Linked DNA regions of Homo sapiens: all the other regions are linked to region 1. Evidence: promoter capture Hi-C in 16 types of primary human blood cells and fetal thymus (Javierre and others, 2016). All regions are on one chromosome and are shown on one strand. Each heading gives the region's core, a stretch centred on a gene start or on the middle of the fragment in contact. The rest is flanking DNA. Distances are from core to core; before and after follow the strand shown. Region 1 holds the start of ADPGK-AS1 (ADPGK antisense RNA 1). Region 2 overlaps CD276 (CD276 molecule). Region 3 overlaps PARP6 (poly(ADP-ribose) polymerase family member 6). Region 4 overlaps PKM (pyruvate kinase M1/2). Region 5 holds the start of LOC105370891 (a long non-coding RNA gene).

Region 1 (2,700 bases), core at 200-2,699:
GTGGCTGAGGGTCTCGGCCACCTTCCAAAGGGGCGGAATCCCCCTGCCTCGCGTACCCCAGGGGTCTCGGCAGCGCCGCTATTCTGTGAGCCTATTCCTCTCAGAAGCGCCGAGCACTAGGCCTGGAAGAGGACAAGTCTAGCAAATGAGGGGACACGGGCGGAGGGAGGGATTAAAAGATGGGGGTGTGATCCGTGCCAATGGGGACACCCACTGGTTCGAATATTAACGCGAGGTTTGTCCGCTTCTTCACAATCTGTCCGTTTCGTTTTACTGCGAAAGCAAATGTGTTCCCATCCCTCTATTTGGGGATACGATTAGAGTTCCGGGAAGGGGGTGCAGCGCCCGGACTGGCACAACCGCCGTTGTCCCACCTCCTCCGGGGCGGCAACACCGCAGTGCCAGGCCTGGGACTGAGGCGTGGGGTCCCCCCTCGCTCCGTCCTGGCGCCGCCCGTCGCCCCGCCCCTTGGGGGGCCCCGTGGCGCACCCTTGTGACGTAGCGCTTGTGTCGACATCGGCGCGCGCCGAGCCCGGAAGAGGCGCGGGCTAGGAAAGGAGTTGGTTCGCGCAGGTGCGGCGCCTGGGTCCCCATGGCGCTGTGGCGCGGCTCCGCGTACGCGGGCTTCCTGGCGCTGGCCGTGGGCTGCGTCTTCCTGCTGGAGCCAGAGCTGCCAGGCTCGGCGCTGCGCTCTCTCTGGAGCTCGCTGTGTCTGGGGCCCGCGCCTGCGCCCCCGGGACCCGTCTCCCCCGAGGGCCGGTTGGCGGCAGCCTGGGACGCGCTTATCGTGCGGCCAGTCCGGCGCTGGCGCCGCGTGGCAGTGGGGTGAGTGCCAACGGGGCCTGGGTCTCTGAGCCTCCGAGGTCGGCCTTGGAGGTCGGGCGGAGCCGCGCAGAAACAGGGCTTCTCAGAGGTCCCCGGGAGGCGCTGCTGTCCGCGCTGGCCCCTTGGCGAGAAGTGTCGGACGTCTGAGTGGAACCCGGTTCGTCACCGCTGCTCTTTCCACTCGGCTGGCCTCTGCGCCTTTCTCTCATCCCGGTAGGACCAGCCCTAACAGCTTCTTGCTAATCCCGCTTTGTCTGACACCTTTCTCCGAGCCTTCTTCCTCGTTCCAACTTTTAGCCCCTTCTCTTCTGGCGACTGTTGTTTTGCAATCAAAGATACTTGACCTTACCCACTATGACAACACTCTTCCTCTTTCTTCTGAACTTCTTGAAGACGCGTGATGTCTGCCTTTACCCACTTTCGAAACGCCGTGTAGTCTAGAAACCACACGACTGTACTGCAACTCCTCTCAGATTTGCCTTTTTGAATCTTCATTATCTACTCTGCAGCCTTCCACGCATTGAACACGCCCTTCTCCGTGAAATTCTTTTCTTCCCCTGACTTCAGTGACACTGCATATTTAAGGTTCTTCCAAATGACACTACCTCCTTTCTTTGTACTTTTCCTTGGGAATGTAATTATTTTCTTTATAGTATTGATACTGTAAACACTAACTTTAGTCCCTGTCTCAGTTCGATTTGACTTTCTTGCCGTAATCTCAGAGTTATGTATAACCACCACATAAAAGCAGGCCCTCTACCATGTAGCTCACTACTTTCTGTGGAGTGTTGGGGCCGGGAGGGGTAAAGTAGAGCAAACTTGGCCTGAAGATTAAATGACATCATTCATGTAATCTCTCTAGCATAGTGCCTGCTTTAAAAAGCATTCGATATTAGCTATAATTTTGGGGTTTTTTTTTTTTTTTTTTTTTGGACACAGGGTCTCTCTCTCTGTCGCCTAGGCTGGAGTGCAGTGGTGCAATCACTGCTCACTGCAGCCTCGAACTCCCGAGCTCAAGAGATCCTTCTGCCTCAGCCTCTGGAGTAGCTGGGACGACAGGCAAGCACCACCACGCCCAGCCAATTTTTTATTTATTTTATTTTTTTTAGTAGAGTCGAGGTCTTGCTATATTGCCCAGGCTGGTCTCGAACTCCTGAGCTCAAGCCAGCCTCCCATCTTGGCCTCCCAAAGTGCTGGGATTAAATTGTCCTTCCTTGCTTTATGCGCGTTCATTCAGCAGATATTCACCAACTACATGGTTAGTGTCAGGTCTGTGCTAGGTTCTTAAGATACAGAGATGGGTGAAGCAAGGCCCCTGTCTCACTTGTTGGAAACATATTATTGTATCAGTCATTTGGGCTGCTAGAACAGAATACCACAAATTAGGTGGATTAAACAACAAATCTGTTTTCTCGTGGATCTGGAGGCTGATAGTCCAAGATCAAGGTGTTGGCAGGATTGGCTTCCGATGTGGCCTCTCTTCCTAGCTTGCAGCCAGCTGGCTTTTCAGTTAGTCTGCGCATGTACACTCCTGGTGCCTCTTATTCTTCTTATGTGGACACTAGGTCCTTTTGGAATAGGGCTCACCCGTATGACCTTATTTAACCTTAACTACTTCCTTAAAGGCCCTACGTCCAAATATAGTCACATTGGGAATTAGGGTTTCAGCATATGAATTGGTGGGGGGTGGACAATTCAATCCATAACAATTATGGTTAGAAGAGGAACAACCCACGAGGACCAGGCAGAAGCCTTAATGCCTTTTACGACCTTACCTTAGAAGCACATAGGAACTCTTCTACCAGAGTCACAGGTCCACCTGGTTTTAAGGGAGGGGACATAGAACAAACCTTGATGGGAGGAGCATCAGTGTCA
Region 2 (2,700 bases), core at 5-2,504, 910 kb before region 1:
AGGGGCTGCAAAACTGACCTATACATGCATGTGGAAATGTGTACACACACACACACACACACACACACACACACACACACACAGGAGGCACAGAGCCCTGAAAAAAGTGAAAGCTACATTGGGCCCAGAGGAGGTCCAGCCAAAAGAAGGGATGGCAACAAGGAGAATAGGGAGAGGAAGGAAAGGGATGAGAGCACATGAGACCACATCAGAGCGCAGATTTCGGGTCAGACACTGGCAGGCCCAGGGCACACACATCTGCATTCACTCAATATCTGCTGAGTCCTGCTAGGTGCCCACCTAAACATATCTGGAAATCCTATCCTTTCCAGAAGCCTTTCCAGACTGCACTCAAGGAAGGGTGCATTTTCTCCAGATGTGATCTGCCTAAATGCCTCCTTGCCTCCAAATTCCTTTGGTTTCTACCCTGAAAGAGGCTCAGCTTAGCAGAACAACTCTGCCGACCCCTCTCCATCTAAGCACCAGACCCCTCTCGGAGTGTAGCAATCTCCACCAGTCCTCAGAGCTAGAAGGCCTCTTACGGTACACCTGGTCCAGCGCCTAGCTCCAGGCCCATTGTACAGATGGAAATCTGGACCCAGAGTGGTGGCCGGCTGGCCAAGGGCCCACACTCAATTATCAGCCACCAGCAGAAGTGACTAAGAGCCAGCTGATGCTCCTATCTCTCTTCCTCACTTATTGAATGGAATCACCAGGCTGCCTTGCCTGCCCAGGGTACAGCATGAGCTCAGAAGCCAGCAGCCTTGGGTTTCAATCCTGACACCGATGCCTTGCTGAACACATGACCAAGTTTAAATGACTTAACCTATTTGAGACCCAATTCCAAATCTCTAAAATGGGGGTAACAATCCCTACCCCACAGGGCTGCTGTGAGAATAAAATAAGACAATAGAGAGAGAGGACTTAGGAAAGTGCCCAGTACCAAAACTGCAGTAATAATTATTATTATTGCTGTTATTATTGCCGCAAGCATGGGGACAAGGCCTCCTAGATGGGGCCTCTGCACTGAGCGAACACTTTGCCCCTACCCCACTCTCCCTGGCCAAGACCTCCTCTGTCAGGCCACACATCTGGGCCTCTGGGACCATTACTCCTTCTGTATCCCTACTTTTCACCTAGAGCCCTATCAGTGCCCCAGCTCCAAAGTAGCAAATGCACAACTCGACTCCATCTCTGGCTCTGACTCATTCTAGTGGTCCTGGGCCCCTTCCTCTTCGCAGATGCTTGGTCACAGTTCCAAGTACCATGAGCTCCTACCGTCCTGCTGCCATAGCCCCTAGCACAGAGCATTCCCACAGGGACACATTCCAATGTCTCCCACAAGGCAGCCCCAGTTCCTAGGAGCCTGCATTGCCTCTAGGGTAACTTGGGACCCCTGCCTCCCAGAGACAGTATCTCTCCCTGCTCCAAGGCTCCCAGCAAGAAATGCTTCTCACTCCACTTCCCGCAGATTAAGCTCCCTATGCCTAGAGAAGGTCAGATTCCCAATGGCATAAGGTGTGTGGAGCAGGCATTCATTCTCTGGACCACAAAGAGAAAGAAAGGGAGAAAGGGGGCAGCTGGCTGGGAGCACTGGTCAGAACTGGAGGGTGGAGGGGGAACTCCTGGAAGCCCCAGCATGATAAAGTCCAGGGCTCTGGAAGAGAAGAACTCTCAGCAAAGGCCCTGACTATGCTGTGAAGGCCACTAGTCACTGGGTCACCCAGGTCAGGCCTGCCCCTTCTCTGGTTCCCCAGATGAGTCTTCCCTGACTTACTAAGGAGACCCTTGGCACATCTTACCGGGCTCCAGAAAGAGGGGTAAAACCTGTGCCTACCTCCAGAGCAGCAGAAAAAGCCAGTTCTGGAAGCAGACAACAGCCCAGCTCCACCATTTGCCGGCTGTGTGTCTTTGGGCATGTGACTTACCCTTTCTGGGCCTCAGTTTCCCCAACTGTACAATGGTGTTAATGATACCCTACCTCATAGGATTACTATGAGGATTACATGAGATAATGTCTATTTAGCCTCCAGCACAACCCTACCCACTCCCAAACCTGAAAACCCAATGCTCCTATCTGGCACACTGCAAGGGCGGTAGAACTGGGGGTGGCAGGCAAGGGTTGCATAACTGTACACGTGGCCCCCTTCCAGGTGTGGGGTCCATTCTGAGCCAACAAGACCAAAGGCAATTTCTCAAAAATCATGTGGACCAGTCCTCACCCCTCTCCCCCTCCCCTAGGCCCTGGGTGTGCCCTCCCCCTTTTGCTGGTGGACTTCCCTAACACTCCTGCCCTGGGGATGTGGGAAAAGGACAATGAGAAGTCGCCACCCACTCAGAGGATAAGCTCATGGGCAGTAACGTCATCCTCCTTGCCATTTTTCCTCTTTCCCTGACCCTATGACTCAGATCCACAGCTTAACAGCCCCCATGTGGTCATAATCTCAGAGGCTGCTTGGATTTGGTCATTTTTCTGCACAGACCCCAAACCCCGTATGTGCAACCAAGTACCATCCAGCCACTTGTTCTACAACATTTTCTAGGAGTCTCTTTAGGTGCTGTGGAATTCCAACTCACAGCTCTCTTATCACACTGCATCTCTGACTCCAAACAGCATTGTCCAGCTCCTTGTCAAACTCAAATCCTACTCCAAAGAACAAAGATTTACCCCTCCAGAGAAAGCCAAAGTTTAATGATGGA
Region 3 (2,700 bases), core at 178-2,677, 520 kb after region 1:
ATAAAGAACTGCATGTGCAAGTGTGCATGTATATGCACGCAAGCATGTCTTTTTATATGCAAGTATCTGTATGTATAATAAAAGTGTATTAATAGCCAGGTGCAATGGCTCACGCCTGTATTCCCAGCAATTTGGGAGGCCGAGGCCGGTAGGTCACCTGAAGTCGGGAGTTCGAGACCAGCCTGGCCAATGTGGTGAAACCCCATCTCTACTGAAAATATTAAAATTAGCTGGGCGTGGCAGCAGGCACCTGTAATTCCAGCTACTTGGGAGGCTGAGGCATGAGAATTACTTGAACCCAGGAGGCGGAGGTTGCAGTGAGCCAAGATCGCGCCATTGCACTCCAGCCTGGGCGACAAGAGCGAAACTCTGTCTCAAAAAAAAAAAGTGTATTGATAAATACGTGTGCCTGTATATATACACCACCCAGCTATTAAGTGGTGATGAAACCCATTATTATCTACTTTCCACAGGACAGTGACTTGTTACCACCGCAACAGCAGAGCCTGCCATCCCCAACAGATCACCAGTTGTCCCTGACATCGTGCCCTACCTTGTCTCCCTTTGTGGTCTCCTAAATGCCCATCTCGTTGGCCTTGGTTCGGCTAGTGGTATGGAGGGGTGCTGCCTAGCACTGACCTGAGAGTGTGTGTGACCCACTGACCCAATGGTGAGAACTGACTGCCCACCTCTCCAACTGATTGTTCAAAGGGTAGAGGAGACAAAGTGCAGATCTCACCCTTTCTTGGTATTTTCCCTTCTACCCTTTTGGAAGATAGAGTGGCTATTTGAAGTTAAAGGAAAGGGAAGGGGCACAGAAACAGTATTACTTGGTGTGTTTGTGTAGTGGGTTTTCTTGGGGAGGGAGAGGAGAGTTAAGTACTTTAAAGGATAGAAAGAAAATAATGAGACAAGAGAGTTTAGGTGTGCTTGGGAACTGTCTTAGGTAATGATCCTGGAAGAGGCCAGCTTGTACTGGAACCCAGATATGCTTAGGAGTCAACCTTGACATTGAAGTCATTTGCATTTCTTTCCTACTGGCTACCAGAGCCTCTCAGTCATCATACTGAGACTTCAGAAGGCCAAAATTCCCTAGATGTTTTCCTCTGTCCCACTAAGAGCTAGTTTATGGATATGATCATATCAGGAAGAGACTGAGACTCTCACAAAGGGTGACATGAAAGGTGTAAAGGGATCAGGGCTTCAGTTATTCTATATTTCCCAATCTTTGTGGGAATCTGTTCCTCACCATATCATCCCACGCCTTTCCATGGGATAATAGGGACCTAACAAAGCATGATATCCTTATTTCTCACCACTAGGACATCAAAGGCCAGTTCTGGAATGATGACGACTCGGAGGGAGATAATGAATCAGAGGAATTTCTCTATGGCGTTCAGGTGAGGTTACATCTCCCAAGACCCCCGTGTTGGATGGTCTAGATATGTGCTGCTTTTTGGATACATCAGGAGTGAAAGAGGTTCTGGAGCACAGATGAGATGAGGTTATAATGTTGATGTGGTCTGAGCATGGTCTTGTCAGAGCTGATCCCGTGCCCTTGCTCTTTCTTTGGAGTCATACCTGTTCCAGAGTAAACTACATCCTCTGTATGTGGAGACTACCCATATCTTAATTAGACATAATTATTTTCTGACTTTTATAACACTAGCCAGTGGGGGTAGTTTCATTCATTAGGGTCACATCTTAAAAGATTACTCTGCCAGCGTTTGCTTAATGCCATCACTACCCAGGGCACAGTCCTGAGCAGAAGTACCCAGACTCTCAGAATGCTCTTCACTTAGAACCAATCTTAGGAAACCTGTAACTCTTCAGCCTGTTCTGAGTTGTCATAGAAGGTATCCTGGTCAAGGTCTGAGAGAAAAGCTGGAGATTTAAGGAAGTGAACTCCAAGCAAAAGCCTACATTTGGTCTGCTGAACCTTTTTAAAGTCATGATGAGATGGAGACCTCTGTTAATGAAATCCCTTGCTAGGGTCACCACTGAGAACCCCTTCACATAAGTGGCTTTTACTTCCCCTATACTGCTGTCTGATTTCTCCTGTTCCTGGTGTCTTTTCATATTCTTTTTATTATCTCTCTCTTTCCCTCGTCTTTTTCCACCTCTCTCCACCACCATTTTTGCTGCTATCTCAGGGGAGCTGTGCAGCTGACCTGTATCGACACCCACAGCTTGATGCAGACATTGAAGCCGTGAAGGAGATCTACAGTGAGAACTCTGTATCCATCAGGTGGGACTCTACTTCAGGGGTGGCAGGGGAGCAAGTCACTTCTTTCTGAGTTGTTAAAAGGCTAGAGGTTTTTCTTTTTATGGTATGATAGTGGGATAAATTATGAACTTAATGATAGAAAATGCTCAGAATAAATGAGCTTGGCTGAGAGTAGAGAGTAAGGCCACTTTTCTTAGGAATTCCCTCTTATCCTAGACCCCTCTGGGCCAGTAGTTTCACCTTTCAGGTAAGAAATGCTTTTGGCCTGGAAGTAGATCCTGATCAGGTAAGTGGTGTAAGGCTATAGCTAAGACCCTAGGTACAAAACTGTCATCCACTCTTCCCTTTCCCCTGTCCCCAGGCTCAGTTCTCTTTCCAACTCAGTTTCTATTCCCTTCTTTCTCCCTTAATGAGTCTCACCTGTTGTCACCTGTATCTCTATAGAGAATATGGAACTATCGATGACGTGGACA
Region 4 (2,700 bases), core at 62-2,561, 560 kb after region 1:
TTTTGGAGAAGGCAGGAGAGCTCTGGCCCTCCCTGCAAGGGAGGCTTCAGGTCAGAGCCTGAGGAAAGACCTGGGCATGAGATATGAGGTCTCTGGCTGGGTAGAGAGCATGAAGGACACATGAGATCTGGAGTCTGGATGAACTTGCTGACAAGCAAGCTTTTTTTGACTGCTAATGCGTAAATCCACTATAGAAATTTTCATTTGTCATTTTTGTACTTATTGGCAAAAAATTAGAGCTTATAGGCATCAGATTTAATTTGAGATAGTTGAAATAGGGTTTGTGTTTGAGGCCAATATAATTTTATCTGCTAATGGCATCTCGTGGACTTGGAGGCAGCCCTTCTGTACCAGAACATTGTCAAAAGCTTTTACTGTAAAGCTTGAGAACAAACTAGTTTGCTGGATTTGGGCATGTAACTAACAGGTTTGAGGCATGGGATTATCCTGTGGACTTTTTTTTTTTTTTTTTTGCTTTGAGGTTCTGAATGTATTAAGGTTGACCTTCTTAAGCCGTTGAAACTGTTCTGCAGTACATTTGTGATGTAGGGCCTAAGACTTGTATCGTTTTTTTTTTTTAATCACAACCCAGTGTACAGAACTTGAGACATGCGTCTTTTCTCTGCCACCTTTTAAAAGCAGATTATTCTTGAAGTGCATAGAGCAGCAATTGATTAATGGAATTGGTGTCTTCACATTTCATTTACTTCCTCCCAACAATTTTATAGGATGCATATAAATATTTCCAAAAGAGGTACACATAATTTCTTACTATAAAAGTATTTTTATATTTATATCAGTAAATTTGTTAATAAAGAGGATTTTTTTTTTTCTGTAATCCTACCACCCCAATGACGTCCTATTAAAATTTCAGTATATATCCTCCCAGGTCTTTTAGGTATGTTTAATTTGGTGTCCCTTCCCCGCTCCCAAAAGGGGAGGGACCAGGTTCTTGTATAGAATAGTGGAATGTTAGTAAATCACAGGTTTAAAGAGACATAACAGTGGAATCTCTAGAGCAGCTGTCACCTGGATACCTGGTTATTAAGGTAATTTTTCCATTACCCCAAAGAGCTTTAGTTACACTCAGCTTTTTCCTTAATCCTTGTGCAGCTCTCCAGGGCACACCGTATTCAGCTCTGAGCGGTCTTTGCTAGTGAGGCCAAGGAGCCACCCTGAGCCAAAAGGGGAGCATTATGTCACCGGAAGCCCAACCCCAGAGAACCAAAGGTATGACCTGATATTCAGTGGCCCCAGCCAGGTCTTTACAGGAAGACCCTCATATCTCAGGTCTAAGAAGAGCCAGCTGATGGTTTTTAAAAAGAGTGGAATTAGTTACTCCAACCCACTTATTCAGATCTTATTTTGTTCACAATACAGTCCCTAGATTGTAGGCCCATTGGAGGCCACAGCAAAGCCTTTGTGTTCCAGTTGGCCTGATGTGCCATCTCTCAGTAATGTTCCCTTAACAGCCAGACTTCCCTAAGCCCAGCTGGGAGCTCTGAAGGTATGCGAGCCCTCCCTCAACCATGAGTGTAGGGAAAGGGACCAGGGGCCCCAGGCTTTCCTGTCAGTAATGCAGAAGTTCCTCAGATTTAGGGAAGGGGGAGCAGAGGCATAACTTTGATTCTGACAAAGAGGCATTCAGAGAGACTGAAAGGTCATTTAACAAACACTGGAATGCTTCCACATACTAGGTGCTAGGAGATACAAAACCATATAGGTCCTGGAAGGGAGGATTGATTTTTTCATTTTGGTACGTAGTAGATATTAGGGGCTTAGGAAATACACATCGAAATGAAGAGTGCATTTGCCATGTTGAACCGTTAGCCGGTATCTTATTTCCCCATTTTAAAAGTTTTAGAATCTGTGGTTGAGGACTTGTGGCCATCAGTTTTCCATAGCCAACAGACTGTTCACTACTGCCTTCAGAGCTCCTTGGACCTCAGCGGGCCTTCTTTGGAGATGGCAGAGATGGATTTAGATGTATACTCTACTCGAGCCACCCAGAGAGCCCACAAAGTCAGAGATGGAACAGGGTAAAGGAGTAAGGGTCATATGTGTGAGATGCCTTGATTTGGAACTTTGAGATTTAGGATGAGGTGGGGAAGGGCTAAAGAGGAGCTTGTTCCTGAGCCTTGCTTGGCCGAAGCATTTAGGCTCAAGCGTTTTAGAAAGAGTAGCCCTTGGTCTGAGAACTCAAGGAAACAGCTTTCTGATGAGACGTGTAGCAAGCTTCTGGTTCACATCCTTACCTGATAGTTCTTCAAACACTGCCTGGTCTGGTTCACATCCTTACCTGATAGTTATTCAAACACTGCCTGGAAGCTTCTCCTGAGTTTTTGTCTCTAATCAGCTAACTAACAGGCTGAGTGAGTTTAGTTGTAAGTCATTAATGAAGAAAGCAAAGGTTGGGGCCATTGTCAGGGTTGTGACCTGGGCTAGTTAATTACCTGGAACTGATGGTCTGTGTTACAGAGTGGTGGTATACTTGTCAGGCTTAGAAAAGAAATCAGGATGTGTATCAAAAATCATTTGGGGAAAAGATTTGACCAGCAACTTTAATTTCTCTATGTTTGCAACTATCCTGTTAATGTAGTTGTGATAATTTCAGAATTATACCAGTGCCCTTATGTTATCCTTGCTTTGCAAATTGCAAATTGCTTTGCGTGTCCTGACATCCTTCTGGCCAACAGTAGA
Region 5 (2,700 bases), core at 201-2,700, 850 kb before region 1:
AAATACAAATTCCTAAATTCTTTTAAAGAAGTTACTGACTTAGGCCGGGCGCGGTGGCTCACGCCTGTAATCCCAGCACTTTGGGAGGCCGAGGCAGGTGGATCACAAGGTCAGGAAATCGAGACCATCCTGGCTAACACAGTGAAACCCCGTCTTTACTAAAAACATAAAAAATTAGCCGGGCGTGGTGGCAAGAGCCCGTAGTCTCAGCTACTCGGGAGGGTGAAGTAGGAGAATGGCATGAACCCGAGAGGCAGAGCTTGCAGTGAGCCGAGATCGCGCCACTGCACTCCAGCCTGGGAGACAGAGCGAGACTCCGTCTCAAAAAAAAAAAAAAAAAAAAAAAAAAAGGAAGTTACTGACTTAGACCAGGCATGGTGGCTCACTCACGCCTGTAATCCCAGCACTTTGGGAGGCTGAGGCAGGCAGATCACCTGAGGTCAGGAGTTTGAGACCAGCCTGGCCAACATGGCAAAACTCTTGTCTCTACTAAAAATACAAAAATTAGCTGGGCATGCTGGCGGATGCCTGTAATCCCAGCTACTTTGGAGGCCGAGGCACAAGAATCTCTTGACCCCGGGAGACGGAGGTTGCAGTAAGCCGAGATCCCGCCACTTCACTCCAGCCTGGGCAACAGAGCAAGACTCCATCTCAAAAAAAAAATTACAGAATTATTAAAAGGTCTTAGTTATTATGTATTTTCTCGATGAAAAGTGACAAAGTACAGCTACTATCATGTGGAATTTGGTGACATTTCTCCCTGGGTAAAAGGGTTTTTTCATAACTGCAGGTTTTGAGAGTTGACTGGTAACACCCATACTTAAAAATGTTCTTCCCAGATCACTTTTTGCAAGCATGAGATAAGAAGAAGAATACAAAGCTGGAGTCAGAATTGTAGTAGCAGCATCAACATCAACATGAGTGTTTACTATGCACCAGAAACTGTTCTAAACATTGCACATAAATTTACTCATTTATTCCTTCTATAATCTTGGAAGGTAGGTGCTATCATTAGCACCATTTGACAGAAAATAAGGTCCAGAGAGATTAGGTCATTTGCCTAAGATGACAGAGCTCCTGGATGGTAATGTTGGTGTTGTGGACTTGAATTTCATCTTTCCATTAGCCGGAACAGTCTATGTTATGTCACAGGAACAAATACCCCTTGAATCTCACAGTTTAATTCAACAGAGGGTACCTGTTCTGTATGGGTTAGCAGGGGGGTTAAGCTTATTATGCTAACTCAGGGACTAATGCTGACACAAGGTTCGTTTTGATATATGCTTTCATCGTCATGATCAGTAATCACTACCAAGACGAAAGAGTATGGGAAAGAGTCTAAACTGGAAATGAAATGCTTCTGCTTGAAGCAATGCATGTTACTTTACACATTTCACTGACCCAAGCACATCCAATGCCACTCCCGACTTCAAGGGGACAAGAAAATGCACTTCTACCATGAGTCTATTAACAAGCAAACCAGATTGTTGGCATTAATGATTAATACAAACATTCTGAGAGCTGGAGCCGTTCGTGTCCTCCTTTGGCTTCAGCTTCCCTATCCACAAAAAGACCATGATCATTTTGTAAGAATCTCTTGTTGTAAGGATCAAAGAGCCACATTTGTTACAGCTATAATGAGGCAGAATGGTTGCATCCAACCAAAGCTTCCATCAGCTGAAAATCTTGATCCCACCACAGGCAGCCCTGTAGCCCTCCTTACTGGGCTGTCTGCAGAATGGCCTTTGTCCAGATGAAGGTACATGCCAATCTTTTTGTCACTCACACACCTGAGGTTTTGAAGGACATAGTTTTCACTTCAATCAACAACATGCCATAGTGGTCCTGGCCTTTGCTAGAAATTTTGGTCTGGAACCACCAGCTGTTCAGTTCCTGTTGAAAGTTCCAGACCACTTTAGCTTGATAGAGATTGCGAGGGTCTCCTTCTTCCAGGTCCTCCAAACCCTCTCTTTAAATCAAGTCAGGCCACCAGGACTGTTTACTTGGCCCCTCAGAGTTTCCACAGACACTCCCAGGACGTCTGCTGTGAGTCAGGGATGAGCTAAGCCATAGAAATTCCTTTGCCAACCACAAGCCCTGAGGGTAGTACAAAAAATACCCCTAAAAAGAGCATTTCCCAAACTTCTATGCAAACAGTAGTAACCACACTGCCAATCACCCTCCAGAGTGCTTTGCTAGATCCTTTCCTATGGGGCCATTTGACCCTTCCTCACTCCTCTGCTAGCCTAGGCAGTGCACTCCATGAGGACGGGGACTACCTTTTCATGTGGGTTTCACTATGTGCCTGGCACACAGCACGTTCTCAATAAATGTTTTCCGCATTAAGACGCTTCTTAGGAGTCTTCATGTAAGTTCATACACGACTTCCTTGTAGAATTGTGTCAATGAACATGCAATTAGGCTAGCTGAACTTCAGGCCCTGAGAGTCTATGAAGCTAAAATAAGGCCCAGATGTGGGGTGGGAGGGGGAGTAGGCAGAGGCGGCAAAGGAGGACATTTCAGGCAAAGGGAGCAGATGTCCAGGCAGGAAAGCACAAGGTAACGGGGGCACAGGGGGCGCACCACTTTTCCTGGAAGGAAAAAACAGCAGATGAGAGAAGGAGGTTGGAGCCAGTTACCAGTAGAGGTCTATGTTCAAAGTCCAGAAGGAAGAAACAGCAGGACGGGGACAAAGAGAGG

The links. Contacts are between HindIII fragments. The CHiCAGO score rates a contact against its expected background, and 5 or more counts as called.
Region 2: a fragment that was not itself captured here is called in contact with the fragment with the promoter of ADPGK-AS1 in region 1 in 1 of 17 cell types (M2 macrophages); the score reaches 5.1 in M2 macrophages.
Region 3: a fragment that was not itself captured here is called in contact with the fragment with the promoter of ADPGK-AS1 in region 1 in 1 of 17 cell types (fetal thymus); the score reaches 5.1 in fetal thymus.
Region 4: a fragment that was not itself captured here is called in contact with the fragment with the promoter of ADPGK-AS1 in region 1 in 2 of 17 cell types (fetal thymus and naive CD8 T cells); the score reaches 6.1 in fetal thymus.
Region 5: a fragment that was not itself captured here is called in contact with the fragment with the promoter of ADPGK-AS1 in region 1 in 2 of 17 cell types (fetal thymus and total B cells); the score reaches 7.9 in fetal thymus.

The regions. Positions count from the first base shown.
Region 1 is chr15:72,781,584-72,784,283 of GRCh38, reverse strand. It overlaps ADPGK-AS1 (ADPGK antisense RNA 1), which reads right to left and starts at 1,449. Exons shown (of 3, transcript NR_040107.1): 1 at 1-1,449. It overlaps ADPGK (ADP dependent glucokinase), which reads left to right and starts at 526. Exons shown (of 7, transcript NM_001365225.1): 1 at 526-825. The coding sequence starts at 593. RefSeq lists enhancers at 1-210, 261-320, 1,081-1,150 and a silencer at 371-830. The HindIII fragment of the contact is 5,666 bases long and covers 1-2,700 here.
Region 2 is chr15:73,686,572-73,689,271 of GRCh38, reverse strand. All of the region lies in intron 1 of CD276 (CD276 molecule), which reads right to left. Among named protein-coding and RNA genes, the nearest start is that of CD276, 3.5 kb to the right of the region's middle. The HindIII fragment of the contact is 3,534 bases long and covers 1-2,700 here.
Region 3 is chr15:72,265,445-72,268,144 of GRCh38, reverse strand. It overlaps PARP6 (poly(ADP-ribose) polymerase family member 6), which reads left to right. Exons shown (of 24, transcript NM_001323532.2): 3 at 474-670; 4 at 1,323-1,400; 5 at 2,154-2,248; 6 at 2,672-2,700. The coding sequence starts at 668. Among named protein-coding and RNA genes, the nearest start is that of PARP6, 5.8 kb to the left of the region's middle. The HindIII fragment of the contact is 4,663 bases long and covers 1-2,700 here.
Region 4 is chr15:72,219,698-72,222,397 of GRCh38, reverse strand. All of the region lies in intron 1 of PKM (pyruvate kinase M1/2), which reads left to right. Among named protein-coding and RNA genes, the nearest start is that of PKM, 10 kb to the left of the region's middle. The HindIII fragment of the contact is 1,853 bases long and covers 385-2,237 here.
Region 5 is chr15:73,633,763-73,636,462 of GRCh38, reverse strand. It overlaps LOC105370891 (a long non-coding RNA gene), which reads right to left and starts at 46. Exons shown (of 3, transcript XR_932451.3): 1 at 1-46. The HindIII fragment of the contact is 438 bases long and covers 1,232-1,669 here.